4 separate regions of the Homo sapiens genome follow, and regions 1, 3 and 4 are each linked to region 2. The links are contacts of gene promoters, found by promoter capture Hi-C in human tissues and cell types (Jung and others, 2019). All regions are on one chromosome and are shown on one strand. The core of a region is centred on a gene start or on the middle of the fragment in contact, and the rest is flanking DNA. Distances in the headings are between cores, read along the strand shown.

What was found. The method cuts DNA at HindIII sites, captures the fragments that hold promoters and counts their contacts. A contact is called where the count stands out against the background at its distance.
Region 1: the fragment with the promoter of ORMDL3 here is called in contact with the fragment with the promoter of NEUROD2 in region 2 in 3 of the 25 tissues and cell types used here (lymphoblastoid cells, spleen and thymus).
Region 3: a fragment that was not itself captured here is called in contact with the fragment with the promoter of NEUROD2 in region 2 in 1 of the 25 tissues and cell types used here (lymphoblastoid cells).
Region 4: a fragment that was not itself captured here is called in contact with the fragment with the promoter of NEUROD2 in region 2 in 1 of the 25 tissues and cell types used here (spleen).

Annotation. Positions count from the first base shown.
Region 1 is chr17:39,926,351-39,929,184 of GRCh38, forward strand. It overlaps ORMDL3 (ORMDL sphingolipid biosynthesis regulator 3), which reads right to left and starts at 1,251. Exons shown (of 4, transcript NM_139280.4): 1 at 1,134-1,251. It overlaps LRRC3C (leucine rich repeat containing 3C), which reads left to right and starts at 1,382. Exons shown (of 4, transcript NM_001195545.2): 1 at 1,382-1,464. It overlaps LOC124903999 (a long non-coding RNA gene), which reads left to right and starts at 370. Exons shown (of 2, transcript XR_007065750.1): 1 at 370-412; 2 at 578-652. RefSeq lists enhancers at 505-1,115, 1,116-1,727. The HindIII fragment of the contact is 12,451 bases long and covers 1-2,834 here.
Region 2 is chr17:39,606,651-39,609,400 of GRCh38, forward strand. It overlaps NEUROD2 (neuronal differentiation 2), which reads right to left and starts at 1,270. Exons shown (of 2, transcript NM_006160.4): 1 at 1,078-1,270. The HindIII fragment of the contact is 16,482 bases long and covers 1-2,750 here.
Region 3 is chr17:40,000,631-40,003,517 of GRCh38, forward strand. No RefSeq gene overlaps it. Among named protein-coding and RNA genes, the nearest start is that of PSMD3-AS1, 13 kb to the right of the region's middle. The HindIII fragment of the contact is 8,544 bases long and covers 1-2,887 here.
Region 4 is chr17:39,248,508-39,251,304 of GRCh38, forward strand. No RefSeq gene overlaps it. Among named protein-coding and RNA genes, the nearest start is that of STAC2, 24 kb to the left of the region's middle. The HindIII fragment of the contact is 6,399 bases long and covers 1-2,797 here.

The sequences.
Region 1 (2,834 bases), core at 1-2,500, 320 kb after region 2:
GAGATCAATAAACTAACAAAAAGACTGGCAATGAGGAAACACTCTTGAGACTTTCGTGTGACTATGGATACATATCACTTCCATTAGTAAAACAACCAACTGGCCCCTACCCTAGATGGGGAGAAACAGAGAGAAGAGGCTGGCAGAGGTCGACTAGGTCTACAGGAGTTGAGCCGAAAACTTCTGCTGCCATAGCTGGCAGGTGGCTGCTTAGTGCTGGGCCCTGATGTGGTTTCATAACCTGCCTCAAACCAGAGCCTGCAGCAACTCTGTTGTGTTAACCACTTTTTTGCTGGTAGCTCTTTCCCCCTCCTTCCCGCCCCACCCTCTTGGCTCCACATACAAATATCCGGGCCCAGCCAGTATGCCAGACACTCAAGCCAAGGCTGAGCACCACCAGGGCAGCCACCAGGTGAGCCCTTCCCATTCCCTCCCCCAGGAAAGAGCAGCCCTCACAACAGCAAACCTCCTGTCTTCTGGAAGAGGAGCACAAAACATCCAGGCCTGGATGGGGACCCCAACGGGGAGTCCGGGGCAGCACGTCACAATGCCATGTCCATTCCGCCCACCCCCCAAGCTGCAGGACCACAGCTGATAACCTCTCAACTTTGGCCCAGCCACCCCGACTGGGGGAGGGCGGTAGGAGCGGAAAGCGAGTGCCCAGGCGAACCCGCACTAAGCACAGGAGAGGAGGAGCGAAGAGGCGGAGTCCTCACTGTTGTTGGGGTTTTCTGAGTGAGACCTCGGGTGCGGGGCCGGGGGGAGGGGTCCCGCTCTGTTCCCCAGCCTGGGTCTTCGCACTCGGAACCCGGTCCGGTCCGGGACCCCACAGCCATCTCCACGCGTTCACCCAGCCCTGGAGGCAGCCAAACGTTTATCCCCGAAGCCGAGCCGCTCCCCGCCTCCCACCCCTAGCCGAGGCGCTCCTCCCGACGTTCCACCCCCGGCCTCCCGCTCGCACTTTATTCCTTGGCCACCTCCCCAGCCGATGCACCCCCTCGGCTGATGCACTCCCTCCACCCCCCACTCCCTCTGCCCCCGTCTCTCCAGCCCGGGGCGCCTCCCCAGCAGCCCCCACCTTCTCTCCCGCCCCTCCCGTAGCCCTGGGGCCTCTTGGTTCCTTCCGGGCTCACCGTGTGGGGCCGAAGATCAACGGCCCGGGAACGGTTCCCGGGAGCGGGGGCCGCTGCTGCTCCAGCAGCTGTAACAACCCGCGGCTGCAGCCTCCCCGCTGGCAGCTCCGGCCGAATCAGCGCTCCGCGCCGGTCCCCGTACGTCACCGCCCCGCGCCGGCACGCCCGACGCCTTCTGGGAGTTGTAGTTTCTTCCGCTGGCTCCGGGCCGGCCCTCCCGACGCCTCCTGGGAGTTGTAGTTTTTCCTGGGCTCCGTTCCCGGCCTCTTCGGGGACGCACGGTTGGAAGTTGTACCGTGACGTGATGGTCAGATCGGATGATAGAATTTTGGTGCGTAACAATTCCAACTTTTGCTTCTGTGCCCTTCAAGTGTATTTTATCCGTGCCCCAGTTTTGCAGATGAGGAGACTCGGACTTGTAAGTAACTTTCTGTAGGTCTTTGCTGGGTCCTAGACTGGATCGAAACCCAAATATTCTGACCCCAACTGCAGGATTTTTCCACTGCACCTGGCTGCCTCCGCCCTGGCCCCAGATTGGCTCCTCCAGAAACAGACTAGCCCGGCCCTTTGCCCTGCTGGGCCCTCCTGGGAGAGCGCTTTTCACAACATTGGCTGGGATGAGGGTCTGGAGGGCCCGGAACGGAGCCTGCCTTCTCCTTCTCAGTCACGCTTGGCCCAGGCTGCCCCGGACCGGGCCACATCCTTGGCCGCCCCGCACCTGACGTGAGAAGAGGCTACGTATCATAGATTCCTCCATCAGTAGTAAGGAGCCTGAGTTTCTGTCTCAGGTCAGCTTGTGTGGCTTTGAATGAGAGGCTCTGGTCTGCAGTTTTCACATCTGCATCGTCTAAAGGCAAGGGCACAGACTTTACTGCCTGGTAGACATGGGGTAGGCCCTCCTTTATTGGCAGTGTGACCCTGGGCAAATTACTTGTCTTAATCTCCAATTCCACACCTGTGAAACCCCACCTCCAAGGTTGTGGGAACCCAAAAGAATGTATGTAAAGCACCTGTTGCATTGTAGGAATCTACTTAATATTACTGTAGGAGGTTGAACTAAATGGCTCTTGAGGTCTCCTCGGTTACTCCCATTCTCCATGTCACCAAGAGGTCTTGTCTGGGTAGTTTCAACTCCTTACCCAGCTTCTTTCTAAGTCCACTCTATGCAGGGCAGGGCTGGAATAGCAAGGTCAGATGATGTCATGGCATGCCAACCTGACTCTGAATGGCAGTTCATGGCACCCTGAACTGAAAGTGAGGGAACAGGAAGGAAAAGGCTAGCCCAGGGAAACTGCGGAGCACTTTACTCGGACTACACCTACCTTTCCTTCCCCAGGGGGCTGCCAGGAAACAGTTGTCACACAGCTGGAGTGGGACCCCCAGAGGCACTTAGTGGTCACCAGGCAGGTGGGTATTTGAACCACCCAGAGCAGAACAGGCAGCTTCTTCAATATTTCCAGGGCCAATGGCCCCAAAAGGGCTCATTCCAAGATCGAAATAATCATCTGAGTCTGAAATAGCTCTGCCTATGTCCTGTGGAAGTTTCTCCTGGTTTGTGGAGGTGCCTTTCCTTATAGTCATCTTTCTGCAGACATAAGCAAACCCAGTGTTGTTCTTTTCACAGAAACCTCCCCAGCATTAAGGCAAGAAAGGTGTCTCTGTTTTTTCCGAAGTGTGCCTGCTTGACTCCTTTGATTTTTC
Region 2 (2,750 bases), core at 20-2,519:
GAGGGGCGCGCTGGGGTACCGACGCCCCCCCACAACCCTCCTCCACCCCCGAGTCTCGTGCGGGCTCCTGCCTAGGCTACCCTGGATGCCCACCTCCGCCGCCTGCCCCGCCCAGAGCCGGCCCAGCCCTACCCGGCTGCCGGCCTGGGATCTCGGCCCAGGCCCTCTCCCCGGCGCTGGGCCCCGGCTCCGCCCCTCGCTTGAATGGGGGGCTGCTCCCCGCGCCTGCTTCTTCTCAGGGTCAGGGCAGGGACCGGGTGGGGGTTTTAGGGACCAGATATCTTTGCCAGGGGAGGCGGCGCGCTCGCCCTGAAAGCCCGTTCTCTCCTGGCGGTGGAGAGAGGCTGGTCGGCCGCCGGTGGGGACAGCTGCCCCGCTCCGCGCTCTCGCGGCCCGGGCCCCCCGGCCCAGCTCCCTCACCCCTCCCGTGGCTCTCACCCCCACGCTCCCTAATCCAATTTGCAACTTGGCTGCGCGCCGCCCCTTGCTCGGCCCCCACCCCCGCACCCCCAATTCCAGAGGCGGGAGGATCGTCTCCTCTAGCCGATGCGTCCCCAGCTCCCGGAGCCGGCTCTGGGCGGCGAGGACTGAAGCAGCGGGGCGTGGGGAGGAGACTGAGAGAAGCGAGCCCAGTCCGTCCCCTCTGCGGTCAGGGACCCCCTTCCCCCTTCAAGCTGACTCCCTCCCACAAGGCTCTTCAGATCTCGTTGTATTTTGGGATTGATGGGGGAAAAATCCAAATTTGTTTGTTTGCTTCCCTTTTTTCGGTGGTGGGGAAAGGTGGCAGGCTTTTTGGGACAACCATGGAGGGGTCCTCCGTCTCGGCCTCTTCGCATATCCCCCTCCGTGATCCTGCCTTCCCCCCCCACCGAGCCCATCGCAGGCAGAGACACCTCCTCTGCAGCCCCCTGGGCTGCAGCCCCTAAGGGAGAGAGAACCTGGGGCCCCTCCGATGCCCACCCAATGAGGGGGGCATCATCCCAGGAAGGAGGTATTTGAGGACCCTCCTGTCGGCCGAAGCTGCCGCCCCTCCTCCCAACCGGCGGGTCAGATCTCGCTCCCTTTCGGACAACTTACCTCGGAGAGGAGTCAAGGGGAGAGGGGAGGGGAGGGGGGGAGGGGGCAAGAGAGAGAGGGGGGAGAAGAGGGATCTTCTCGCTTATTTCATTGTTCCCCCATCTTCAGGGAGCGGGGGCAGCGGCTCCTCAAGGCGGCGGGCGCCGGCGTCTTCAGAGCGCCATGCGAACCGCGGAGCGAGTGTGGCATCTCTACCAGGCGGGGTACCAGCCTCTATGCCAGGCCATATGGGCTTGGCACGTCACGGGCAGCAGCTATCACATGAGAGACGGTGATTGGCATGCGTCTGCACTGGGGGAGAGCCGGCTCCCCCGGGACCCGCCGCCATCTGTCACTCTCTACTCCAAAAAAAAAAAAAAAAATTAAATAAATAAAGGAAATAAATAAATATTTCTGCCGCCCTCCCCTCCCCGCCCAACGCAGGGAAAGCAGGGATTGAGAGGAAGGTGGGAGGAGTTGCCCCCTGTATATAGAGACCCCCTCACGGGAACAATGGGGTGGCAAGGCTGGACACTGGGGGCTCGTGGTGGCCAATTCTATGCTCCCTCAGGGTCCCGCTCTGTCCATTTCCTCCCCTGCAGGCCCCCAAGGTGGGTCAGGGACCAGACCCCGGGTTGGGGAGAAAGGACCTCTGTGCTTGCCCCCACTCCCCAGGAGGGTCCCCTTGGCCACAAAGGGACAGCTGAGACCCCCTCCCAGGATGGCTGTAAGGGGCGTCCCTGGCCCGAGCCCCATAGGTAGATGTTGGCACCATGCCATCCCTCATCCCTGTCTGCCCCTCCCCCACCCACCCTCACGCACACACAACATATGTGGCTAAACGAAATTCAAACCAAGGGAAAGACAGAGAAAGGGAAAGATGTGCCTGGATGTCTGTGCCTCTGCATGGGCGTGTGTGTGTCTGTGGGGACATGTGTGTATCTGTGGAGTCAGCCGATGGGAGATCTTTCCTTGGTTGTTGGGGGCGTATCCATGTTAGGGTGGAGTGGGGAGGGGCCGCGAGATGAGCCTGTGCACCACCCATCTGGGGGTGGAGGGGAGGGTCTAAGTCTGGATTCCTAACCTAGAAACCTCTCACTCTCCTCCTCCCACTGCCAGACAGGTGACCAGTCCACCAGCGGCTTTCTCTCCTGGTCTTCAGACTTGGTTATTTGAGGGAGGAGGAGCAGGCAGTGCTGAGAACTGCCTAAGTTCCTGGATGAGACTCAAGCATTCTCCTCCCCTTCTGAAAAATCTGAAAATACTGAAGCCAACCCCAGTAATCCCAAGAGTGGCCAAGGGGAGGTAGGTCAGACAGCTGTCTTGATAAGGGAGGTAGGAAGTTGCTGTTTTATCTTGTGGCTCACCTTTCAACACTCTCATTGGGCCAGACACAGATACAAATGGCACAGGTTGAAGAGGTGGCTTTGGACACACACACACACACTCATGCACACACACATACACACACACACGGATGCATACACATGCACACATATACCTGTTCCTCACCCTGTGGTGTAGAAAAATAGATAACATACCCCTACTCAGATAGACACATGTATGTGAGCAGGTAATCACAGCCTGGTGTAGACAGACCCTTGCCCACACCCCATTTGGAGCATTTGTATGTTTTAGACCCACATTTCTGCCCCTCCAGACACTCTAGCTGACATATATACACAACTTCAATT
Region 3 (2,887 bases), core at 89-2,588, 390 kb after region 2:
AGGTGGCTACACTCAAAAACAGACTTTCAATGTAGACAAACAGCCTTCTATTGGAAGAAGATGCCACCTGGGACTTTCATAGCTACAGAAGAGAAGTCAATCCCTGGCTTCAAAGCTTCGAAGGACAGGCTGACTCTCGTTAGGGCTAATGCAGCTGGCGACTTTAAGTTGAAGCCAATGCTCATTTACCATTCCGAAAATCCCAGGGCTCTTAAGAATGATGCTAAATCTATTCTGCCTGTGCTCTGTGGATGGAACAACAAAGCCTGGATGACAGCCCATCTGTTCCCAGCATGGTTTACCGAACATTTTAAGCCACTGTTGAGACCAACTCCTTCGTCGGCTCTGTCGGCCAGGCTGGAGTGCCGTGGCATGATCTCAGCTCACTGCAACCTCTGCTTCTAGGTTCAAGCGATTCTCCTGCCTCAGCCTCCTGAGTAGCTGGGATTACAGGCATGAGCCACCGCACTCAGCCAAAAAAAATATTTTTTAAAGTTATTACTGCTGATTGACGATGCACCTGATTACCCAAGGGCTCTGATGGAGGGATACCAGGGAAATAATATTGTTTTCATTCCTGCTAACACATCCATTCTGCAGCCCATGGATGAAGAAGTAATTTCAACTTTCAAGTCTTTTTTAAGAAATACATTTTGTAAGGCTAGAGCTGCCATAGTGATTCCGCTGATGGATCTGGGTAAACTGAAAACTTAGAAAGCATTCATCATTCTAGATGCCATTAAGAATATTCATGATTAGGGCCGGACGTGGTGGCTCATGCCTATAATCCCAGCACTTTGGGAGGCTGAGGCAGGTGGATAAACTGAGGTCAGGAGTTTGAGACCAAGCTGGCCAACATGGTGAAACTCCATCTCCACTAAAAATAAATAAATAAATAAATAAATAAATAAATAAATAAATAAATACAAAACTTAGTCAGGTATGGTGGCACGCACCTGTAGTCCCAGCTACTCGGGAGGCTGAGACATGAGAATCGCTTGAATCCGGGAGGCAGAGGTTGCAGTGAGCCGAGATCGTGCCAATGCACTTCAGCCTGGGTGACAGAGTGAGACTCTCTCAAAAAACAAAAAAAGAATATTCATGATTAGGCCGGGAGTGGTGGCTGACACCTATAATTCCAGCACTTTGGGAGGCTGAGGCAAGAAGATCGCTTGAGCCCAGGAGGCCAAGAGCAGCCTGAATAACAAAGTGAGAACCCATCTGTATTAAAAAAATTTAAAAATTAGGCCGAGTGCAGCGGCTCACACCTGTAACTCCAGCACTTTGGGAGGATGAAGCGGGTGGATCACTTGAGGACAGGAGTTCGAGACCAGCCTGACCAACATGGTGAAACCACATCTCTACTAAAAATACAAAATTAGCCGGGCATGGTGGCGCTTTCCTGTAACCCCAGCTATTTGGGAGGCTGAGGCAGGAGAATCGCTTGAACCCGGGAGGCGGAGGTTGCAGTGAGCCGAGATCATGCCATTGCACTCCAGCCTGGGTGACAAAAGCAAGGCTCCATCTCAAAAAATTAACATTAGCAGGAGTTTGAAAGAAGTTGATTACAACCTTCATGGGTGACTTTGAGGGGCTGAAGACACACTTCAGTGGAGGAAAAAACTGCAGATGTAGAAATAGCAAAAGAACTAGAATTAGAAGTGGACCCTGAGGCCAGGCCCACTGGCTCACACCTGCAATCCCAGCAATTTGGGAGGCCAGGGCAGGAGGATAACTTGAGCTCAGAAGTTCCAAACCAACCTGGGTAACATAGCAAGACCTCGTCTCTACAAAAAAAAAAAAAAAAAAAAAAAAAGTGGAGCCTGAAGATGGGACTGAATTGCTGCCATCTCATGATAACATTTGAACAGATGAGTTGCTTCTATGGATGAGCAAGGAAAGTGGTTTCTTGAGATGGAATCTACTCCCGGTGAAGAGGCTGTGAACATTGCTGAAATGGCAACAAAGATTTAGGATATTACATATACTTAGTTGATAAAGCAGCAGCAGTTTGAGAGGATTGACTCCATTTCTTTCTTTCTTTTTTTTTTTTTTTGAGATGGAGTCTTGCTCTGTCGCCCAGGCTGGAGTGCAGTGCAGTGGCATGATCTTGGCTCACTGCAACCTCCACCTCCTGGGTCCAAGAGGTTCTCCCACCTCAGCCTCCCCAGTAGCTGGGACTACAGGTGCACGCCACCACGCCCAGTTAATTTTTTTCTATTTTTGGAAGAGATGGGGTTTCACCATGTTGGCCAGGCTGGTCTCGAACTCCTGACCTCAGGTGATCCACCCGCCTCAGCCTCCCAAAGTGCTGTGATTACAGGCGTGAGCCACCGCTCCAGGCCAGCATTGACTTCAATTTTGAAAGAAGTTCTACTGTGGGTAGAACGATGTCAAACAGCATCATATGCTATAGAGAAACCTTTCTAGAAATGGAGAGTCGGCCGGGCATGGTGGCTCACACCTGTAATGCCAGCACTTTGGGAGGCCGAGGCGGGCAGATCACCTGAGGTCAGGAGTTCGAGACCAACCTGGCCAACATGGTGAAATCTCGTCCCTACTAAAAATACAAAAATGAGACGGGCATGGTGGTGGGAGCCTGTAATCCCAGCTTCTTGGGAGGCTGAGGCAGGAAAATTGCTTGAATCTGGGAGGCGGAGCTTGCAGTGAGCCGGGATCGTGCCACTGCACTCCAGCCTGGGCAACAGAGGGAGACCCCATCTCAAAACAAAACAAAACAAACAAAAACACAAAAATGAAAAAAGAAAAGTCAATTGATGCAGAAAATTTCATTATTTTCTTATTTTAAGAAATTGTTTTCACCTGAAGGCACTAGGAAAAATAAAAACAAAAATAAGGAAAAAAAAAAGAAATTGCTACAGTCACC
Region 4 (2,797 bases), core at 83-2,582, 360 kb before region 2:
TCTGGCATAGGGCACCTCTGACTAGTCTGCTTGGCATCTGGTTATTCAGATGTTTGCCTTCCACCCCTCCACATGCCAGAGCTGGTCAGCTTGGCTTATGTACACAAGGGGGTAGGAAGAGGTAGATGTGAAGTCGGGTTTTAAGACACGTGTGGCCGGGCGTGGTGGCTCACACCTGTAACCCCAGCACTTTGGGAGGCCGAGGTGGGCAGATCATGAGGTCAGGAGTTCAAGACCAGCCTGGCCAAAATGGTGGAACCCCATCTCTACTAAAAATACAAAAATTAGCCAGGCGTGGTGGCGGGCACTTGTAATCCCAGCTCCTCGGGAGGCTGAGGCAGGAGAATCGCTGGAACCCGGGAGGTGGAGGTTGCAGTGAACTATCGTGCTACTGCACTCCAGCCTGGGTGACGAGCGAAACTTCACCTCAAAAAAAGAAATAAAACAAAAAAACACTTGGGTGTGCCAGACGCATTGTAGGCTGCTTGGAGGGTGAGGACCTGACTGGTCCTGCTGGTGCCTTTTTACTGCTTTCGGTGCAGAATCCAGATGGCTACTACTTGGTTCTGACCTAGGCCAGGGGAACTCCACTGCTCAAGAGACTGATAGCTTGTCTTCACCAGAAACCTTGTTAAAACACTTGGCTGACTCAACAGGCTCCAGGTGAGCCAAAGTATCTTGCATCTCACCCCGAGAGGAGGCAAGTAGCCTCCAGCTTCACTTTTCTTTCTGGTCAGCAGCAATGGCTGTTGGAAGTCTTCCTTACCCATTCGTTCTTCTGAGCTGGCCAAGTTTATGAGGCAAAAAAAAAAAAAAAAAAACTGGCAATGTGGAAAGAGCTTTTGCCATGAGCAGTGTTGGCTGGTGATCACTGAGAGTGTTAATTCATTTAAAAATTTTAAGCCCTTTTTAAATTAAAAGTTAATTTTTAAAAGGTATATACACTTAATGTGTTGTCCAATGTGTTGAACATTTAATGTGGTGTTCAGTTTTCTTGGCTTTATTGTCCCCAAGGGGAAATGTCTTCTGCTTAAACTATAAACTAGGGCAAAGGATGGGGTCTGGAACAAGGGAATAAATCAATCCAGCTGGATCTTTTTTTCACAATTAGTTTGGGCAAAACTAATTACTAAAGCCTCCAAAAGACCATTCAATATTCAAATCACTGTACCTACTAAAAAACTCAGTTCTAAGAGATTTAGGAAATACTATAGCTATTATCTAGAATTGAGGCTATGGGGCTTTTAGAAAAAAAAATTTAGACATATTGTTTCCTTAGTTTTAAGAGATGAGGTCTCTGTTGTCCAGACTGGTCTTGAACTCTTGGTGTCAAGTGATCCTTCCATCTAAACTCTCAGTAGCTGGGATTATAGGTGTGCACCACTGTGCTTGACTTTTTTTTTTTTTTTACCTTAAATTTTATTAATCTTTCCCTAAAGTCATAAATTTAATTTTTTTTTTTTTTTTGAGATGGGAGTCTTGCTCTGATGCCCAGAGGTAGAGTGCAATGGTGCAATCAATCTGGGCTCACTGCAACCTCCACCTCTAGGATTCAAGCAATTCTCCTGCCTCAGCTTCCCGCATAGCTGGGATTACATGCTTGCACCACCACGCCCAGCTAATTTTTGCATTTTTGGTAGAGATGAGTTTCATCACGTTGGCCAGGCTGGTCTCAAACTCCTGACATCGTGATCCGCCTGCCTCAGCCTCCCAAAGTGCTGGGGTTACAGGCGTGAGCCACCGTGCCTGGCCTACTTTTTTTTTTTTTTAATTTATAAAGAAAAGAGGCTCTTTTTTGGCCGGGCGTGGTGGCTTACACCTGTAGTTCCAGCACTTTGGGAGGCTGAGGTGGGCGGATCACCAGTGGTCGGGAGTTCGAGATCAGCCTAGCTAACATGGTGAAACCCTGTCTCTATAAAATATACAAAATTAGCTGGGCATGGTGGTGTGTGCCTGTAATCCCAGCTATTTGAGAGGCTGAGGCAGGAGAATCTCTTGAACCCGGGAGGCAGAGGTTGCAGTGAGCCCCGGGGTTGGTCTCCAAAAGAAAAAAAAAAAGGTTTGACTCAGTTTTGCTTTTCACGTTTAGGTCAGTAACCAACTGAAATTGATTTTTGTGTATCTTGCAGGTAGGAATCTAGTCCTCTTTTTCCATACAGAAAACCACTTTTTTTTTTTTTTTTTTTTCCTGAGATGGAGTTTCGCTCTTTTGCCCAGGCTGGAGTGAAGTGGTGAAGTGGCACGATCTCAGTTACCGCACCAGGCCCAGAAAACCACTTTTATATTAAACAGTAAACGCTTTCTTAAAAGACAAATGGTATCAGGTCATATCTTAACTGTTTTTTTCCATTCTCCCTCCCTTAAAGTTTTATTACGAAAATCTTCAAATATACAGAAAAGTATATTTGATGATTTCCAAATGCACAAAGTGGAAGACAAGTCATTTTTAAGAGACAAGTGCCCTCTTAAAAATTCTTGCATAAGCCCGGGCTTGGTGGCTCACGCCTGTAATCTTCAGCACTTTGGGAGGCTGAGTCAGGCAGATCACTTGAGGTCAAGAGTCAAGACCGCCTGGCCAATATGGTGAAATCCCATCTCTACTAAAAATACAAAAAAACCATAGCCAGGCCGGGCACGGCGGCTCACGCCTGTAATCCCAGCACTTTGGGAGGCCGAGGTGGGCGGATCACGAGGTCAGCAGATCAAGACCATCCTGGCTAACACGGTGAAACCCTGTCTCTACTAAAAGTACAAAAATGAGCTGGTCGTGGTGGTGGGCACCTGTAATCCCTGCTAC